Regions from separate parts of the Homo sapiens genome. Here region 1 is linked to region 2. The links are contacts of gene promoters, found by promoter capture Hi-C in human tissues and cell types (Jung and others, 2019). All regions are on one chromosome and are shown on one strand. Each heading gives the region's core, a stretch centred on a gene start or on the middle of the fragment in contact. The rest is flanking DNA. Distances are from core to core; before and after follow the strand shown.

The links. The method cuts DNA at HindIII sites, captures the fragments that hold promoters and counts their contacts. A contact is called where the count stands out against the background at its distance.
Region 1: a fragment that was not itself captured here is called in contact with the fragment with the promoter of MBNL2 in region 2 in 1 of the 25 tissues and cell types used here (spleen).

The regions. Positions count from the first base shown.
Region 1 is chr13:98,450,222-98,454,250 of GRCh38, reverse strand. It overlaps FARP1 (FERM, ARH/RhoGEF and pleckstrin domain protein 1), which reads right to left. Exons shown (of 27, transcript NM_005766.4): 27 at 1-4,029. It overlaps STK24 (serine/threonine kinase 24), which reads left to right. Exons shown (of 11, transcript NM_001032296.4): 11 at 1,042-4,029. The coding sequence ends at 1,078. Among named protein-coding and RNA genes, the nearest start is that of FARP1-AS1, 16 kb to the right of the region's middle. The HindIII fragment of the contact is 6,145 bases long and covers 1-4,029 here.
Region 2 is chr13:97,221,083-97,225,577 of GRCh38, reverse strand. It overlaps MBNL2 (muscleblind like splicing regulator 2), which reads right to left and starts at 3,245. Exons shown (of 9, transcript NM_001382683.1): 1 at 3,047-3,245. RefSeq lists an enhancer at 3,164-3,223. The HindIII fragment of the contact is 5,720 bases long and covers 2,154-4,495 here.

The sequences.
Region 1 (4,029 bases), core at 1,178-3,677, 1.2 Mb before region 2:
TTACCCATGATCCCACCACTGTAGCCCAAATCTCATCAGCATCTTTGGGTGCATTGCCTTCTGTTGTCATACCAGGTCATAAACTTACTGAATTCTCTTATCTACCTTATAGTGCAAAGAAGATTTTTTAGAATTTCTATAGTACTTAATTTAGGATACAGAAGTTGTTCATGTAAATATACTTATATAGTGCACATATACAGGCTGAATATCCCAAATCCCCAATCTGAAACTTTTGAGCGCCAGCATGGGGCTCAAAGGAACTGCTCTCTGGGGCATGTCAGATTTCGGATTTGGGGCTGCACACTGGTAAGTATAATGCGGATATTCCCAGATCCAAAGCCAGAAGCATTTCAGATAAGGGATGCCCAATCTGTAATTTTGTATGTACTTTTAAACTTGTACATATTTTTAATATTGCTTTAATATATATATGTAAATACAGATAATTACCATTTTTAGTCTGTTATTTCAGTTTGTATAATTTACTTAACTGATTCTGTACTGTTGGGCATCAGAGTTGTTTCCAAATTAGTGTAATTACGAAAATCCCGAGAGACATCTTTGTGCAGACACGTTGTTCCTGCTTTGGACCATATTTCGGAAGCAGTTCTAGGAAATAGATTCTTGGACTGCATCACTATTTTTATGGCCAAAATGGGTTTCCTGCCCTCACATCGGGAATGCATATGCATCCCTGGAATCTTACTGTGTCATCATGTATGGATCAATGTTCACTTTTTGACAATTGATCGTAAGTAAAAGGGATATGATTTCCCGTTTTATTCACATCTCTCCAGGGAGGCTGAACCCATTCTTGGTTTTTGGTGACATGCTCTGGAGTTTTTGTGTAAGAATCATGATCTTCTCAGTCTTTATATGCATTCTTTTAAAATTAGACTTACACATTGATATTTGCTCCACTTATTTTTGTATGACTTGGAATTTCTTATGAAAACTAAGATTTTGGTTACTATATGAATTTTTGCACAGGGATGAGAAATGACATGTGTTGACTTCTCTCTCTCTCTTTTTCCCTAGATACTCTCTAAGTGGTGGAGGAACTTCATCCCACTGAAATTCCTTTGGCATTTGGGGTTTTGTTTTTCCTTTTTTCCTTCTTCATCCTCCTCCTTTTTTAAAAGTCAACGAGAGCCTTCGCTGACTCCACCGAAGAGGTGCGCCACTGGGAGCCACCCCAGCGCCAGGCGCCCGTCCAGGGACACACACAGTCTTCACTGTGCTGCAGCCAGATGAAGTCTCTCAGATGGGTGGGGAGGGTCAGCTCCTTCCAGCGATCATTTTATTTTATTTTATTACTTTTGTTTTTAATTTTAACCATAGTGCACATATTCCAGGAAAGTGTCTTTAAAAACAAAAACAAACCCTGAAATGTATATTTGGGATTATGATAAGGCAACTAAAGACATGAAACCTCAGGTATCCTGCTTTAAGTTGATAACTCCCTCTGGGAGCTGGAGAATCGCTCTGGTGGATGGGTGTACAGATTTGTATATAATGTCATTTTTACGGAAACCCTTTCGGCGTGCATAAGGAATCACTGTGTACAAACTGGCCAAGTGCTTCTGTAGATAACGTCAGTGGAGTAAATATTCGACAGGCCATAACTTGAGTCTATTGCCTTGCCTTTATTACATGTACATTTTGAATTCTGTGACCAGTGATTTGGGTTTTATTTTGTATTTGCAGGGTTTGTCATTAATAATTAATGCCCCTCTCTTACAGAACACTCCTATTTGTACCTCAACAAATGCAAATTTTCCCCGTTTGCCCTACGCCCCTTTTGGTACACCTAGAGGTTGATTTCCTTTTTCATCGATGGTACTATTTCTTAGTGTTTTAAATTGGAACATATCTTGCCTCATGAAGCTTTAAATTATAATTTTCAGTTTCTCCCCATGAAGCGCTCTCGTCTGACATTTGTTTGGAATCGTGCCACTGCTGGTCTGCGCCAGATGTACCGTCCTTTCCAATACGATTTTCTGTTGCACCTTGTAGTGGATTCTGCATATCATCTTTCCCACCTAAAAATGTCTGAATGCTTACACAAATAAATTTTATAACACGCTTATTTTGCATACTCCTTGAAATGTGACTCTTCAGAGGACAGGGCACCTGCTGTGTATGTGTGGCCGTGCGTGTGTACTCGTGGCTGTGTGTGTGTGATGAGACACTTTGGAAGACTCCAGGGAGAAGTCCCCAGGCCTGGAGCTGCCGAGTGCCCAGGTCAGCGCCCTGGACTGCTTGCGCACTTGCTCACCGAGATGATGCAGTTGGAGGTTGCTGATCTGTGCGATTGCTGTAGCGGTTGCCGGGGACCTTAAGAGTTATTTTGCTTCTCTGGAAGGGGCCTATGCTTGCTAGGCAGGCAGCCAGTGTGTCTGTTTTTCTTGGTTTGCTGTGGGACCTTGCTTGGCGAGGGGGAAAATCTCTGGGTTTCTGGAGTGGGAGGGTTCGTGCAGCAGCTGTTGACTGGTACATGAAGCATTCTTTTATGTTTGTTGAAGCTGATGATTGACATCTCCCGTGGGTGTGCCAGTTCTTGTGGAGTTAAGACAGGATTTTTGGAAGCAAGGAAGTTAGTGGGTGAGCTTGGGGATGTAGCTCAGCTATCTGCTGGTCTAGTGGCCTCTAAGCTATAGGGAGGGGACAGAGCCCTGAGCTACAGATGCTTGAGTGGGTTATTGTGTCGGTTTGCTAGTGCAGTCTGGTTTTTAAGCTCTAAAATTGAGGTATTTTATTAGAAGTGGATTTGGGTTGAACTCTTAATTTGTATAAGGGATATATTTTGGTTGGGGAAATAGAACTGAGTTGCTAATTCTTATTGTACTCATTACTCCATACAAGAATGTTATGTTGAATAATAAAATTGGAGAAGATTTCATTTTGTGTTTCCAGGGAGTATTCTGTGTGGGGAACTGTTTCCTTACGTGAGGCCGGCGGCATAAGTCAAAGATGAGTTTTGTCCTTGCGAATCACACAGATTGAGTCTGTGTTCCCCAGGGTGTGCCGTTACCTGATTTTTAAGTGAGCCAGGGCGGACAGCAGCTTTTCTGATTTACAGAGTTCTTCAGATTTACAAATGGACAATGACATCACAGTTTTTAGCACTGAAGCCAGTCTCATGCTAGTAACAGTGGGTGAGCCGCTCGAGGGACTGGGTTCTAATGAATACTGGTATGAACGGGGAGTCTCTGCAGTCGCCAGACAAATCATACTCAGCCCCTTCCCCCGTAGAGCAACAAGTGGTTCTTTTAGAGTTGACTGGCAGCATTTCCTGTCGGGGGAGGTGGGGTTTGATGGAGTTAGAAAGCTCGCCTCTGTGTACATTCTCTCCTGGGCTGTTACTTTCTGTAGACGCACAAAATCAGCCCCAATGTTTTTAAGGGCATCTTAGCCAAGGAAGCTGGCTTTTGTGTCGCCACTTCCAGGCCTGCATTAAGAGAGAGCCCAGGCACCAGGGCTACCACTGGAACCTGCCTCAGCGTCAACTGCTGCTGGTCTGTAGCCAGGCCCAGCCTTTGAGACGGGTTTACTGTCACCAGTAGCCTCTCAGTGCCAGCCCTGAGCTGCTCCTGGCTCAGCTGCCCAGAGCCTGCAGCCTGGGGAGGTACTCAGCCTCTGGGAGACGAGGGCCGTGGACTGGGTGGCTGGTAGCTCCTGCGTTTTTGAGCTGTGTCCTGGCTGGCTGCTGCCAATGAGGTGGACACCAGTGTGGTTTGGGGTGCACTGGCCACTTCTTGCTGGGTTCTGATTTTCTTGGAAGTGCATCTGCCTTCCTTATCCAATAGTTTTATCCCTGCATTGCTCTTGTGAAGTGGCTGGTTTGGTTCTGTATGTAGCATTTTGTACCTTTCCTCTGGCAAAACACTGTCAGTTTATAAACATTTTTTATATTTCCCTCCTTTAAAAACAGCTTGTGTATTTCTGCTATAAAATGTGTCAGCAAAGGCAGAGTGACCTAATAGGGCATGTTCTTAAGCACAGGGACTGTATCATGCAGGGGCC
Region 2 (4,495 bases), core at 1,996-4,495:
GTTGCCAGGTTTCTCTGCTTGGCACAACCCAGCCAGCTCTGACATGTAGCTGTACCTGAAGATGGTAAAGGCCCCCAAAACTATGTTTTCAACAACCAACATGTCTTGTAGTTATCCACCTTTTCCCGAATCAGAATCCTTCACCCCTTGCAATGTTGCCAACCTATTTCTATGTTGATAATCTGTTTTGTCATTTTGGAAATGTAAACAAATCAGTATACCTTCCTTTTCATCTTTTTCTTGTTATCGGTAGGAAAGTACAGGAAAAAAGGAAGAGAAAATGCATGAGAGATTGAACCTACTTATTCTACTATAAGGAATTCTCTTAAGCTCAGCATCTAAATCCTCTTTTCCCAATTCTTGCTTGGAATCTTGAGTACCTGATCTTGAATTTCTATGGCACTCCCTGAGCGCGGGACTGGCTGGTAGCCATGTGATATTGATTTGTTTTCACCATAGCAACAGCAAATTGAAACAACTAGCAGAGAGAAGGCAGGCTGTTAACCAGTAAAGCTACCTAACCAGTATATTTCACAAGCATATTTTTCTCCTTCCCTCTTGTTTTTTCTCTTATTTACTCCACTTTCACAAATTTAACACAAAAGTCAAAGGAAAAACAGCATTAAATGTTTTGGGCACTACAAGGCCTGTGGCCAGAATAGTGTGCTTTGCAGAGCTTCTAGTATATTAGATTAGATCGATGGAAAAAATGCAAACAACAACGCTTTGATTTCCTTGGAAATTTCATTTGTTGAACTAAGAAAAAGTATCCCTAAAAAATTTACATGAGCACAAAGTAGAGTGAAGGGTTTTGTGTATATGACTATGTATCTTAATACTCTAAGGTGTTTGCCAACAGTTTCTTAATACCGAGGTTTTATCCCTTTGTACTTTAAATAGCTCAATGTGCCAAGAGACAAACAACTTTTTTTTTTTTTTTTTTTTTTTTGGTAAAAGGTCAAGGTCTCAAAATGCTAAATGATGAGGGAAAGTGTAGCAAGTATGATTCAATTCTATTAAAAGACAGAAAAATCAAGGTAGGCACTTGCTCAAAACTACGTGAGTAGTCAGAGAGGAGACACAAATTAGCTTTGGGAACTCCCGAGAACTCCAATGTGCTCCAGTCAAAATCTTTTTTAAAAGGTTCCTTTGTAAACATTACCCTTCCCCCGATCTCTGTGACCAAGGTTGCCACCTGTGACATGGATTTGCAGCCTGCAGTATTGTACTTCCCCTGCTTGGGGCCATCTGTGCTAGGACATGATGATTTTTCTATGAAAGCAGCTGTTCTCACCATCACAACCAGCCTTGAACTTGGTGGCACAACCTGGATCCTAAATAGTGGCTCTGGAGCAACTGGGAATAGGGCCCCGGGGACCATCCACCCAGGTGGCAGCGCTGGGCTGCACCAAGGGGGAGTCAGGCCAGAAAAAAAGCTTTGCCCTGCTCCCTGCTGCTTTTTGCCAGCCCAGCCAGAAGCCCTGCAGAAAACCTGTGCTGACCGGCCCGACATGTGGCAGGTACAAGAAGATGCCCTATTTATGAGGGGACAGGTTTACAATTTACAAAAGACAGGCGAAAATATAAAGACATAACTTAAGTCCTGCCAGTGGGGAGTTAGAATGTTCCTGGCCAGGACATAAAGAAATATTCCTCTCCACAAGCTCGAATAAAGGAACACACAGCAGAAATAGTTGGGGGATGACGTCAGAAGTTCTGGGCTAGTGTCCTGCACTTCTCCTTGAAAGTAAAAACAGTGGGTCTAGAAGAATCTACGTGGCATTGCCCTTATTTAAATGAGTAGTTCTACTGCTCCTTGCAAAACAAGTAGGATAGCTGAAGAAACTTCCTCTTATTTAAAGATTATAAGAATGTTCCCCCTGCCTTTTTTAAAAACCTTATTGTCCCCAAAACACACACATTACCCAATTAACAAATAGCTTTCCACTTAACCTTTGTCTTTTAAAGGGACAGTAATGTTTCTTGTAGAACATTCAAGGTGGTGGTGGTTAGGCAAGTCAGATTTTTTTCTTCGCTTCAGTGCTTGCTAACTATTCTAAAAATGTTACACATTTATTGTAAACACATGCTTCCGAGGCCTAACAAAAAAGCACAGTTTCCTCATGCCTGGCAGAAATTTAAAACGGAAAAGGGCAGAAAGAATTCTTTAGCAAATATATCCTTTCCTTCTCCTGGGCCAAGTGTGTTAAAAATAAATCTTCTCCATCATTTCTCACTGCTGCTTCTCAGCGAGAAAGTTGATATGGTTCGGCATAGTGAAAACACAGCTTTAAAAGCTAGCCTGCCCTCATTAAATTATTCTGCTGGCTGTGTGTTCTCATTAAAAATGCATAAAGATCAGATAATTGCAGTAAGCATTATTAACCCAGCTTTACTTTTGAATATAATGGTTCCACTTTTAAGCTGGAAACAAAGGCTCAGACATGCCAGGAAAAGAAATGTAAACATTGAACTACAGTATCGAAAACTTGCCAGAAAGCTACCTCTTGCTAGGTTGTTTAAAATGTGCTTTTGAAACTCAATTAAAGCTGTAGCATTGTAGAGCTAGGTAGGTCCCTAATTTTTAATAAATAGACACATACGTTTGGCCAAACATTCAACCGATGATTATTTACCATGAATTTTTTTTTAATCCTTAATTGCAAGTCTGTTTTCAAATAATAGGATCCATGTAAACTTTATCTATTTGGGAACTAGCTATGGCAATATAACAATTTTTCACAGCAAGAAAATAAGATTGCTCCAAAGAATTCAAATGGTTTTTAAAAAATAATATAATAAATGAATCGATTCTTTGCATAAAAACTCGATTTCTTGCCTCACCCCAAACAGGCGGCATAGATTCAAGCTTTGCCATTTCTTTTTCTCAAATCAAAATGTTACGTAAAACTCCAGGGTCCCCCGCAAGTATTACAATTGAATTAGTGGAATCCAGTTTCCCTGGCTCCCGTAAGCAGCACACATGGAATGCAGCATACTGCAGCAAACTCTTTAAACATTCAAAAAAGGGGGGCGATTCTCCTACCTTGTTTAGCTCTGCCTGTCCTTCCCATTTACAGTAACCCCAGGAACATCTGGCAGAACCAAGTGGCCGAGGCTTCTCCACCGCATCATGAGAAAGAAACTTCCATGTAAATAGTTCTCATTCCCTGTTTATTGTACTCTGAAAGCCGTCTGCCGTATCTGGAAAATTTTACCTTCAGATGATGAAGCAAAGACAGTCTAAACTCTGTTGCTGTAAGCTGCAGCCCTTCCTTCCGACAAATCCCTCCCAGCCGGGGCCAGCCAATCCCCAGCCAGCTCGTCAGCCCTACTCGTCTGAAACTGGCCCTAATAGGATGACTGACACAGTAACACAGCACTTGCAGTGTGTAAAAACAGTGCATCCATACTGATGAAAGAGGAATTTCCCTCTCAGAAGAAAGCAATCATAGCACCAAGACAAAGTGGCACATAATTGGCAGAGCAGAGAGAGGGGTAGCTCAAGAAAACACCCTTGAAGACAGCCAGCTCGAAGCCAGGAGCTTCACCGTGAACACTTGGGAAAATGTGAAACTCCGCAGATTCCAAAGAAATCCAGGTTGTACATGAAACTGAAGTCCTTGGACTATCTGACAAAGCATATGTATATGTTTTTTAAAGGAAAAATAATTCAACGTCTGCCATGGCAGTTAATACCTTACAAAACATTTACATATTTCCATTATTGAGGAAGAATGTGCTAGCCCAAGTGCGTATTCAAAATCAAAACATGCTTATAGCTCTGGCACACACAGGTTTCCTGTATAACATCTGTTATTGCAGTGGTTAATTACTGCGGCCCATTTATCTTTCGTCTAAGTTTTCAGACCACTTGGGACTTCGATTAGGGAATGCTGGACAATAAAATTGATATCTATACACTACCCTTTTCTACTCTTGGCAGGCACCCACGAGAGGATTAGGTGTGCTTTAACCATCTTAGATGCCATTTGATAAATACTGTGCATTGGCTCACATTATCGTTAATGAAGCAATGATTATAGGAAGATGTTTACTGTTGAATACAAGGGGTACATGATCCAAGGGCCCCCATGAGGTGCCATTCCACAAAAGATGTTCTAGGAGGTGCTGGAGTTTCCTGAGATAAAGCAGAAGAAGAGAAAGTTTAGGAAGGGTTATTTATTTATTTATTTATTTATTTATTTCCCAGTCTACAGCATTTCTGTATGCCTTGAAAACAAAAACTCAAAAACATATGGCATTGAGCAAACACAACAAGCATACATTTTCCTCCCCTAAATACCACATTTTGAGAAAAAAAAAGTATGATGATTACATGATGAGACCAAGACAGAACAAAGCCTTTATTCATCTGAAAGGTTGAACCCAATGCACGATTTTTATAAGCAACTGTTCAGCGCATCTGTAATGAAGCAACAGAATGCAATGGAATGCTTTCTTTTTATTTTGCCATTGCATCTTAAAAACATAA